Linked DNA regions of Homo sapiens: region 2 is linked to region 1. Evidence: promoter capture Hi-C in 16 types of primary human blood cells and fetal thymus (Javierre and others, 2016). All regions are on one chromosome and are shown on one strand. Each heading gives the region's core, a stretch centred on a gene start or on the middle of the fragment in contact. The rest is flanking DNA. Distances are from core to core; before and after follow the strand shown. Region 1 holds the start of BTBD18 (BTB domain containing 18). Region 2 overlaps P2RX3 (purinergic receptor P2X 3).

What was found. The method cuts DNA at HindIII sites, captures the fragments that hold promoters and counts their contacts. A CHiCAGO score of 5 or more calls a contact.
Region 2: a contact is called between a fragment that was not itself captured here and the fragment with the promoter of BTBD18 in region 1, in 3 of 17 cell types (M0 macrophages, erythroblasts and M1 macrophages). The highest score is 6.1, in M0 macrophages.

The regions. Positions count from the first base shown.
Region 1 is chr11:57,749,018-57,754,551 of GRCh38, forward strand. It overlaps BTBD18 (BTB domain containing 18), which reads right to left and starts at 2,802. Exons shown (of 3, transcript NM_001145101.3): 1 at 2,524-2,802; 2 at 2,048-2,219. The coding sequence starts at 2,171. All of the region lies in intron 2 of TMX2-CTNND1 (TMX2-CTNND1 readthrough (NMD candidate)), which reads left to right. The HindIII fragment of the contact is 11,151 bases long and covers 1-3,584 here.
Region 2 is chr11:57,349,351-57,354,884 of GRCh38, forward strand. P2RX3 (purinergic receptor P2X 3) reads left to right here. Exons shown (of 12, transcript NM_002559.5): 7 at 407-548; 8 at 1,412-1,548. Among named protein-coding and RNA genes, the nearest start is that of P2RX3, 14 kb to the left of the region's middle. RefSeq lists an enhancer at 479-978. The HindIII fragment of the contact is 563 bases long and covers 2,317-2,879 here.

The DNA.
Region 1 (5,534 bases), core at 1,552-4,051:
AAATCCCTGCTTCCTCCCACTTGTTTGTCTTTCAGATCTCACCTAAGGGGTTATTCCAAGAAAAGTTCCCTAACCCTTGTCTCCCAGTCTCCTCAAGTCTGTGAAGGATGTTTCTTTTTTATCCTCCTAAGTCTGCCTATGACTTACCCAATTATATTTTTAATATATTGCACAGTTACTTGAATGCACTGGATTTTTGAATGTCTTCCCCTTATAAGATTTCCTTAAGAAGAGGAACTTTTGTATGACCACGGTAGCAGTGTTTAGCATACAACAGGCAACTGATACTTTTTTCTTTATTTGGAATTAAATAGTCAATCTCAACTCTGCACTTACTAAGAGAAGCAGCAGGCAAATCACTTAACTGTAGTCCTCAACTCATTCATATGTAGAATTGGAACCATATAGCTAAGGCTTCTCTTACAAGACTGTTAGAATCAGATGAGACATGGCCGGGTGTGTGGCTCACACCTGTAATCCCAGCACTTTGAGAGGCCAAGGCAGGTGGATCACCTGAGGTCAGGAGTTCAAGACCAGCCTGGCCAACATGGTGAAACCCGGTCTCTACTAAAAAATACAAAAATTAGCCAGGTGTGGTGGCATATCCCTGTAATCCCAGCTACTCAGGAGACTGAGGGAGGAGAATCGCTTGAACCCAGAAGGCGGAGACAGCAGTGAGCTGAGACCGCGCAATTGCACTTCAGCCTGGGCGACAGCGCAAGAATCTCAAAAAAAAAAAAAAAAAAAAAAAAAAAATCAAATGAGACACTATACTGTATGTAATCCACAAACTGTAGAGTGGTATACAATATTGGTTATCATAATTATTTTTTATAAATGAAGACATTGAGCCCCAGAGAGATGAAGTTACCTGCCCATTTCTTGGGCCTTTATATATCAGGATCTACTTAGTAACTCTGACTCCTAATCTTGGGCCTTGTACATTATATATCAGGGTCTACTTTATGCTGAATTAACATTTCCAGTGTGAAGTGAAGGGGTGGAAATAACCTATACATTTTTAGTTCTAGCAACAAACAACAAAAGTCATCAATTTGAAGATTAAATAAATTAAGCAGGCCGGGCAACGTGGCTCACGCCTGTAATCCCAGCACTTTGGGAGGCTGAGGCAGGTGAATCATGAGGTCAGGAGTTCGAGACCAGTCTGGCCAACATAGTGAAACCCCATCTCTACTAAAAATACAAAAAATTTTCCGGGTGTGGTGGCACGCACCTGTAGTCCCAGCTACTCGGGAGGCTGAGGCGGCAGAATCGCTTGAACGCGGGAGGTGGAGGTTGCAGTGAGCTGAGACCGTGCCATTGCACTCCAGCCTGGGAGACAGAGAGAGACTCTGTCTCAAAAACAAAACAACAACAAAAAAGAAAATGGGAAAAGGGTCGGACGTGGTGGCTCACGCCTATAATCCCAGCACTTTGGCAAGCCCAGGCGGGTGGATCACTTGAGGCCAGGAGTTTGAGACCAGCCTGGCCATCATGGCAAAACCTCATCTCTACTAAAAATACAAAAGTTAGCTGGGCGTAGTGGCGCATGCCTGTAATCTCAGCTACTTGAGAAAGCTAAGGCATGAGAATCACTTGAACCCAGGAGGTGGAGGTTGCAGGTAGCTGTGATTGTGCCACCACACTCCTGCCTGGGCAAGAGAGTGAGACTCTCAAAAAGAAAACATAATAGTATCATCTAACACATATTGTGGTTAGTATATTAAAAGCACTATTCTAAGTGCTTACCCACATTAACTCTTAATCTTCACAACCATCCCATTGGAATATTATCCATGTTATATAGAATGTATCTGCTTATAAAACTTTACAATTAGATTCATTATTTAAGAGAAAGAAGCAAAGTCACAATTTCACTCTTGAAAACAGTAGTAATTGTCCTAGAAACAAACAGCCCTTTACCAAATAGTTTACAGTGGTCATAGGCAGTAATATTTTGCTGATTTTGTCCTTTACCCTCTGGCTCTGAACTCATTTTATCTTATTCTATGGTGAGTTTTCAGTTGAATTCCGACCACTCTCTTACCTTCTGCCTGCAGAAGGACATCACAGAACACATCACTCTGCTGCTGGTGATGAAGCTGCAGAAAAGCTAACCTGAGGAACCGGGGGTTCCTGTATAGGATTTTGGGACTGGCAGGAGAGCACATGTTGGCAAGAGTCTTAACAAACCTTCTAGGTTTTCACAGATCAGACTCCTGTAGGTGAGATAATACATTTCAGAGGCATGGTTACATCTAATTTGTTTTTTGTCTTTGAAATGGCAGGGGAATTTTGAAAGTGAGAGATAATAGTATGAGTTGAGGAAACATCAGCCCAGAAATTGTGCCAAGGATATCTCAAGAAAGAAAATTATCATAGTGGTTACATGTGGGAGCTCAGAGATAAGCCTAGGTTTGGGTCTTGGCTCTATTTATTAGCCTGGCTGTATAATCTCACACAGGTGACCTAACTTCTCTGAGTCTCACTTTCCTATCCATGAAATAGAATAATAGTACTTACCTTGTAGGGTTGTTTTAAAGATTAAATGAGTCAGTGAAGGTAAAGTTGCTTAGCACAGTGAGTGCCTGGCACAAAATAACTACCAAGCCCCAAATGGTAACTATTATTATCCTTCAACCTTCCTCATTTCCATTACCACTGAGACTCAACTGCTACAATGCTGACTACTTATATTCTTCCTGAGCACCACATCCCAGCTCCACAGGTATAATCTTCAAGTTAACACTTTTAAGGAAACATTACTGGGTATAAAATTATCTCTAGTAAGTCGTATGCGCCTTTTCTCTGAGCTCACTGTATCACACTAACCAGCAGAGGGTGCACAATAAAGAAGAGAAGCCTCTGACTCTGCGGGAAGGTCTCTCACAGAACCAAGGACGTTGCCACCCTTGGCTGGGTGTACTTGACCAAAGCGAGCCTGACTGACCCTGGTAGTAGGCAAAGAATTTGGCCTTTACGTTTGTATAGTTAATTACCAGGCTAACAATGCAGCAAGGATAGTAAAGCATTTTACCCCTCCCAAAACAAACTGAGTATTCTGACTTCAGGCTTATGTCCAGCTTTTTAGCTCCGAAACCCCCCCACTCACTGCACAGCTGTGTTCCTTTCCTGGAATGCAGTTTTCTATCAGGTAGCACTGAGGGTCCGAACAGTTCACGTCAAAACTATCAGGAAAGAAGAATGAAAAGGTAAATTAAGAGAAGGCGGGCTTGGCTGGGCGGGGTGGCTCACGCCTGTAATCCCAGCACTTTGGGAGGCCGAGGCGGGTGGATCACCTGAGGTTAGGAGTTTGAGACCAGCCTGGCCAACATGGTGACTCCCCGTCTCTACAAAAATACGAAAATTAGCCGGGCATGGTGGCAGGCGCCTGTAATCTCAGCTACTCAGGAGGCTGAGGTGGGAGAATCGCTTGAACCTGGGAGGCAGAGGTTGTAGATAGAGCCACTGCACTCCAGCCTGGGCGACAGAGCGAGACTCCGTCTCAAAAAAAAAAAAAAAATTCCCATCCCAGTGAGAGAGATGTGGATGGAGGATGGCAGCTGTTGCAAGGGCCCTGGGGAAGCTTCTCAATCCACGATCGCCTGGCCTTGCCTCCAGACCCAACTTGAAATAGCTTTTCGGTAGACTTTGCTCCTGTTGCCTTCTCTGTGCTTGTCCTCTGTCCAGCCTGCCTTGCTTCCTCTCAATGTTCAGCGTTGAGTCAGGAGGCTGAGCAAAGATGCGCAGGTGGGCCAACGGCTGAGTGCTTCACCTCCCCATCCAGAAGCAAGGGAATCGGTGTTGGCGGAGAAAGCAGGGCTTCAGGGAGAGCCCTGCAAAGCGGGGTGGCCCGCACGCTTGGGCGCCCTGGCCCAACTCCTTTGAAGAAAGACTCCTAGGCGCGAGGGTTTCTGGGAATGGACCGTGGGGATCCGGGAGGCCCAAAGTCAGGACTTCCCGTCACGGCCACCTCCGCCAGCATAGACTTTGCAGGCAGCCCCTGGCGCCCTTGTATCCCTGCGGGCTTCAGCACCCACATGCACTGGGTGGTAGTGATAGCGAGGGTTGTAAGGCCACGCGGCCAGCGCCACACACCTCGTGCCACCGTCCTAGCGCGCTGCGCGTCGCAGAGCCCTACGCCCCTCCTCCTCCCGAGTCCTCGGGCCTACGTCGTCCGGCATACGTCATCCCCATTGGCCGAAGGCTCCCGGGAGAACCAATCAGAACAGGAGGAGCGCTTTGGGCGGGAGGCTAAGTCTCGAGGGACTTGAGGGCTGAGGGAAGATGGCTGGGCTGCAAGAGGCAGGGGGATGGGCCCGTCAGGGAGGAATTCTTGTGAAAGCCGTCGTCTGCCTCAGCACTTGATGAAAACACACCGAAAAAGAGGGTAGGGATGCTGTAGTAGAGCAGGCGCCAAGGCGGTTAAGGGTCATGTCCGTCTTCCCTTTGAAGAGGCAGTAGATGCCCTTGGCTCTGCCTGGAGCGCTCCATGTTTCGTGATGGAAGTCTCTGGATGGCTCTGGTAACACCGGGTCCCCCATATGGCTAATTTAGAAATCTCCTAAGACCAGAGATGTTATGGAATAAGGTCCTTGGGCAGTTTCTGAATTCAGTTTCTTCACTGATTCCACTCCAACCCCAAATCTTGGAGAACTAATGACCCAGGGGTTTTGCAGAAAATCCCCCCCCCCGCCCCCGCGAACGGTCTCCATTATCGTTACAGAGATGATTTTTTAAAAAAATGTTAATTAGGCCTGGCGCGGTGGTTCACGCTTGTAATCCCAGGACTTTGGGAGGCTGAGGGGGGCGGATCACGAGGTCAGGAGTTAGAGACCAGCCTGGCCAACATGGTGAAACCCCGTCTCTACAAAAATACAAAAAATTAGCCGGGCCTGGTGGCGCGTGCTGTAATCCCAGCAACTCGGGAGGCTGAGGCAGGAGAATCGTTTGAACCCGGGAGGCAGAGGTTTCACTGAGCCGAGATGACGCCACTGCACTCCAGCCTGGGTGACAGAGCAAGACTCAGTCTCAGAAAAAAAAAAAAAAGGTAATTAATGTTGCCCAGGATGTGACGCGATCCCGGCTCACTGCAGCCTCGACCTCTGGAGCTCCAGCAATCCTTCCACCTCAGCCTCCCGAGTAGCTGGGGCTATAGGCAAGTGCCACCATGCCTGGCTGATTTAATTGTTTTTCTTTTATTTATTTATTTATTTATTTTTTGGAAACAGAGTTCCGCTCTTCTTGTCCACGCTGGAGTGCAAGGCGTGATCTTGGCTCACTGCAACCTCCACCTCAGGGTTCAAGCAATTCTCCTGCCTCAGCCTCCTGAGTAGCTGGGATTACAGGCATATGCCACCATGCCCAGCTAAGTTTTGTATTTTTAGTAGAGCCAGGGTTACACCATGTTGGCCAGGCTGGTCTCGAACTCCTGACCTCAGGTGATCCACCCACCCTGGCCTCCCAAAGTGCTGGCATTACAGGCGTGAGCTACCGCACTTGGACTGATTTTCTTTTTCTTCTTCTCTTTCTTT
Region 2 (5,534 bases), core at 1,348-3,847, 400 kb before region 1:
AGCTACTTGGGAGACTGAGGCAGGAGAATCGCTTGAACCTGGGAGGCAGAGGTTGCAGTGAGCCGAGATCATGCCACCGCGCTCCAGCCTGGGCAACAGACCGAGACTCCGTCTCAAAAAAAAAAAAATGCACAGAGTAACCAAGAATGATTCCTGCCCTCTCGAACTCCCAGCCTGGCAGCTGGAGATTAGTCACCGACATACATCACCCTGATACACAGGGAAGGCGGTGATGGGGCACCAGAAAGATGCAGGGAAAGGAAAGAGGGGAGGGAGATGGCGAGGTCCAGATGAAGGCTGAGGGCTCAGATCCCCCCTAGGCCTGGGCTCCGGAAGGCGGGGAGAGATTGCACAAGACGATCTTCCCATGAACCCTGGGCTGACCTCTCTCTCTGCTCCTCCCCAGGGGAAACCTCCTTCCCAACCTGACAGCCAGGGACATGAAGACCTGCCGCTTCCACCCGGACAAGGACCCTTTCTGCCCCATCTTGCGGGTAGGGGACGTGGTCAAGTTTGCGGGGCAGGATTTTGCCAAACTGGCGCGCACGGTGAGGACCTAGCCATTCTTCCGCGACCCCAAACTCCCCACCTTCAGCCCTTTCCCAGATTTCAGGGCCCTTTGGCCGGCACTGGCCAGGAGCCGCCGCGAGACAGCGCCACCTGGTGGAAGCATCCCAGGCCGCCACTGGCTTTGTGCCTGAATCCTTTCTGCTTTCCCCGCGCAGAGCGATCTTGCCCCCCGCCTCCGCCGAGTCCACCTTCCTCAAGCCTCAGTTTCCCACTCCCATCTTCACACTTCACCTCAGGCAAAGGCCTTAGATCTGTAATAAGCCCCAAACGACGGGAAAGTAGACCTGTGGCCACTTTCTCCTGTGTTGTAGCTAAAGCACTGAAGATCCCAAAATTAGGACTCAGAGGCTCCAATGTTCGCATCCGAGCCACAACCTTTTTTTTTTTTTTTTTTTTTGAGACAGAGTCTCGATCTGTCTCCCAGGCTAGAGTGCATGGCGCGATTTCGGCTCACTGCAACCTCCGCCTCCCAGGTTCACGCCATTCTCCTGCCTCAGCTTCCGGAGTAGCTGGGACCAAGCCCGGCTAATTTTTGGTATTTTTAGTAGAGTCAGGGGTTCGCCGTGTTAGCCAGGATGGTCTCGATCTCCTGACCTCGTGATCCGCCCGCCTCGGCCTCCCAAAGTGCTGGGATTACAGGCGTGAATCACCGCACCCGGCCACCACAGCACTTCTTTACTGAGCAGTATATGACATGTCACTTTCCGTTCTCCCTGCCTCCGTCTCCCACCTGGAGGATGGGAGGAAATCATTTGTCACCACCTCCACCCCACCCCCACCCTGGCCCAGAGCAGGGAGTCAGAGGGCGAGGGGAAAGCTCATACCCGGCCCGTTTCTTCAGGGGGGAGTTCTGGGCATTAAGATCGGCTGGGTGTGCGACTTGGACAAGGCCTGGGACCAGTGCATCCCCAAATACTCCTTCACCCGGCTCGACAGCGTTTCTGAGAAAAGCAGCGTGTCCCCAGGCTACAACTTCAGGTAATTCCCTGTCTCCTGGGACACCAGGAGAAGAAGGTGCGGGCTGTTAACGGCAATGTTTATTGGGGAGACAAGATCCCACATCCATCCACCCACCCCTGGCCCCAAGTCCCACCTCAGGTTTCATTTCAAATCAGGAAGGACTCTCTAACAGCCATTAGGATCTAGCTGGTTGTCCTGGGAGACAGTGTCTCCTTATCACTGAAGGGGACCACGCCAAGGATTCCTGCTGCAGGTCAGTAGTTAGAAGAGAGGGCCAAGGTCTCTTGAAATGCTAGGGTTCTGCGATTCTTTGCCTGTTCCTAACACTGGCCTGAAACTGTGACGTGCTTAAGTGACTTCCAGATAGGCCCATTCCCTGCCCTGGGCCTGAATTTTCTAAGGTTTCTCGCTCTACAAAGTAAGGGTGATAACTGGTATCATTTTACATTTTACAAGATGGCAACTTTGCATTTCTCTCCGCAAACGTGTGTCACCAGTAGCAATTATAATTGTCTCTGGTTCTTCAATGCCTCTCCAAACAAGAACTCAGACCAGTCTTTAAATATCATCCCAATGGCTTTGAGACTTCAGGGATCTTTTCGGGTTTTGTTTTGTTTTGTTTTTCCATTTTGAAGAAAGGGAGAGAGGAATTAGAGGACAAACTGTTTGGAAGCAACTGAAAGCGCTTGAACAAGCCATTTGTCTTCTCCCATCCTAATTTCCCCACCTATGAAATTGTGATAGTACCACTGTGATCTTCAGGATTCAATTAACCAATGTGTGAAAAGCTTCAGCTTTCTGTTTTGTTTCTCTCTTCTTTTTTTTCTGAATCATTCATTTATTGATTCATCCATTAAACACATACCAATTGTCTACTACGTGCTGAGGACCGTACTCAGTTATCTTAGGTTAGCAGTTCTCAAAGTGTAGACTACAAGGTCAACACTACTTATTAAAGGTTTTGTTTTCTTTTTAATTGATAAATAACAATTGCATATATATGGGATACAATGTGATGTTTTGATACATGTATACATTGTGGATTTCCCCCAGTTTTTGAAGATCCTGAAGTTTCTGGCAGGGCCCTGTTTAAGTACACAGCATTATACACTAAACAGCTTAAATAGAACAAATAGGGAGTGACCAGGGGAAAAAAATACATAAGAATATATTTCATTTACATTTGAACATAAGAATGTATATTTGAATATATTCAAATAAATGTTACTCAAATTTCCTTTGTTGAGGTGGTATTCTCTGATACAATGGCATACGTAAGCCAAAAATAATCATTTCACCTTTTAAAATTGTTAATTTATAACTTAAAAAAATAATCACCCACCCCATTAAGCTTTATATTTAATAGTTTAAAATATACATGTATATTCTCTGGAAAGAAGAATCTTTAAAAATTGAAGTACTTTCATCATCAACTCCAAACTTTAAAAAAACCATAGGAAACAACACATATTTTAAAGTAGGTTAAAAATACTGTGCGGCTCACTGGCAGAAATTGGCATATTTATTCAGTTGGTATATCACACTGAGATCAATACAAAGGATATTTGTATGGTGGCTTAAAATAGTAACATATTAATAAAATTCTCATGATCTAAAATGCAAGTTTTCATCTTCATAACTTCCCTTTGGCCATTGGGAATTCTTTAATCCTCCAAATAACTCATTTGGCAGAAAAGCTTATGAAGAATGTGAATATTATAAAGACCCCCAACTACTGATATCGTACAGTTTTAGAACAGCATCTCTCATCTAAATAAGAATTGGTCTGGAGTTCTTTATCTCCAATTTATTGCACTGTGGCTGCCTTCCCTCCCTCCCCACCTGAGCACAGAAGGATGCGGGATAGACCTGGTCCTAAATAAGCTTGGAGGGTATTTGGGGAGGCAGGACGGAATATCCCCAAAGACCCTGCCTGCATAATTCCCAGAGGCCTAAGAGAAACCACCCCCTCTTAGGATCTCAGATAATTGACTCCCCCAACAAAGTCCCCCAGGCCAGAGAAGAAGGAGGCAAAGCTGCTTAGTTTGACCCTTGTGATTTAAAAGTTTCCAGAGGGCCCAAGTAATAGCCCTGACATTGGGGGACATCTGATATCAGTGGCAAGCAGAGGGCTCTGCCCAAGCCCCTTCCCATCCCTTCACCTGGGTGCCCACCCACCACCCTCATGCAACCTCAAACTACTGGCACCCAAGGCTAAGCTAAGAGCCCACGTGTGGGAGGCTGCAAAGCTGTCTTTCTGAATGCTTGAATAAGAGAGAAAGGGTCACAAAGCCAGGTTCAGTGCGGGTCACAGTGCACTTTCTATGATATGGTAAGATGTACGCTGTTTTTTAGAATCTCACCAAGCTACTTATCAGTAGAAACCATACTAGTCACCCTGTGTGCAAAACGTTTTGTGTGCTTCAGCTCAGCATTCCTTGCATGCCCTACGAAGTAGATGCTACAATATCCCCCCCAACTTTATAAAGGAGAAGATGGAGTCTCACTGTTAAATAACATTCTCAAAGTCACAAAGCAAGCAAGAGGGGGAGCCTGGATTCAAAACATATTTCTTTGGATGATCTCCACCCCAGCCAGGAAGACTAGGGACATTTGTACTTGTTAATCCTCAGAAAAAAAAGCATGCCTATGTGGTTGACACTTTCATCCCAGCTTAAAAACAAAGAATCTAAGTTCCAAGGAGATTTCAAGACTAGCAGATGCTGGCAGCACAATTCATAGCCCGGCCTTTTGTCTCCCAAACAATTCATTTGCTGCTCCCTCCAACAGAGGCAGATTTTTCAACACCCCTACTGTTGCCATTTGCTCTGGAGGGAATGGAATTATTCAGCCAAGATTCGGCCGTGTTTGAATCTGCTAACTAAGACATCCAGAGGCAGCTAGAGATTCACATTTCCATCACTAATTACATTCGCAGCTCCCTTCCAAATGTCACTCCCCCCCCCCCGCCCCTATTTTTTGTAGCTCTTTGCCTGCAGAATCAGAGATTTTGAGAATTTATAGCTGTTGAAGTTCCCCTTGCAGTCACCCAGAGTAAGGCGGTCACTTTACAGATGAGGAAGCGGAAGTTCCAAAGGGGGCATCTTAGAGTAGCCTCAAAGGTCATTGGATCTCAACTCCTAATGTGACCCTTGTGATTTAAAGGAGTTTACGGACCCATGTAAGAGATTACAGGCCCATGTAATCACCCTGACACTGGGGGATATCTGATCTCCGTGGCAAGCAAAGTGGCCTGCTCCATTCATTGGAAAGGTGACCTCAAATTGAGCCAAAATGTGCCTCCCTTTAAATCCTCTCCAGTGTACTTGGTGCTGTCCATGCAAGTTAATCTTTATTTTTGTGATCCCCTAAAGATTCTGTTCTTCCCCTACCTGAAATTTAGTGGAGACATTTTATTTTTACTCCTTGGTCTGTTCTGCGTGGCTAAAGACTCCGTGGGCCGCTTTAACTTAGTATTTTTATGAAGCCTCTTTCTAAGCACACTGAGATTGCAGTTGGTGGGGTCATCTGGATTTCTAGCAGACAAAATGCAGCAATTTCTAAAAATAAGAACTGTTGAGAGTCACCAGTTCAGTGCTGCACAAGTGAAAGGCGCCCTCAGCAGAGCCCTGCAGTTCTTCAGGAGGCTCTCTTCTCTGTTGGCAAGGTTTCTGAGGCCCAGGTAGACCCTCAATTCACAGGAGCAGGATTTTAACAAGAGTACTATATTTCCCAAAGTCCTGGGAACAGGTGATGTTGTGTGTGTGTGTGAGTGTGTGTGCACATGCGAGTTCGTGAGAGTGGGTGTATTTGTTAGTGGGTGAATGTGTGAGGCTGAGAGTGAGTGTGTCAGTGTGTGTGTGTGTGCGTGAGTGTATAGGCATTGATGGTGCAATGACAGATTAAAAATACTGTATCCGTCAGGGTCCCCGCAGGAAACAGATGGCACATTCTAACTGGGTAATCTGAGGAGAGTTTAATAAAGGGACTGTTTCAAAGGTGTG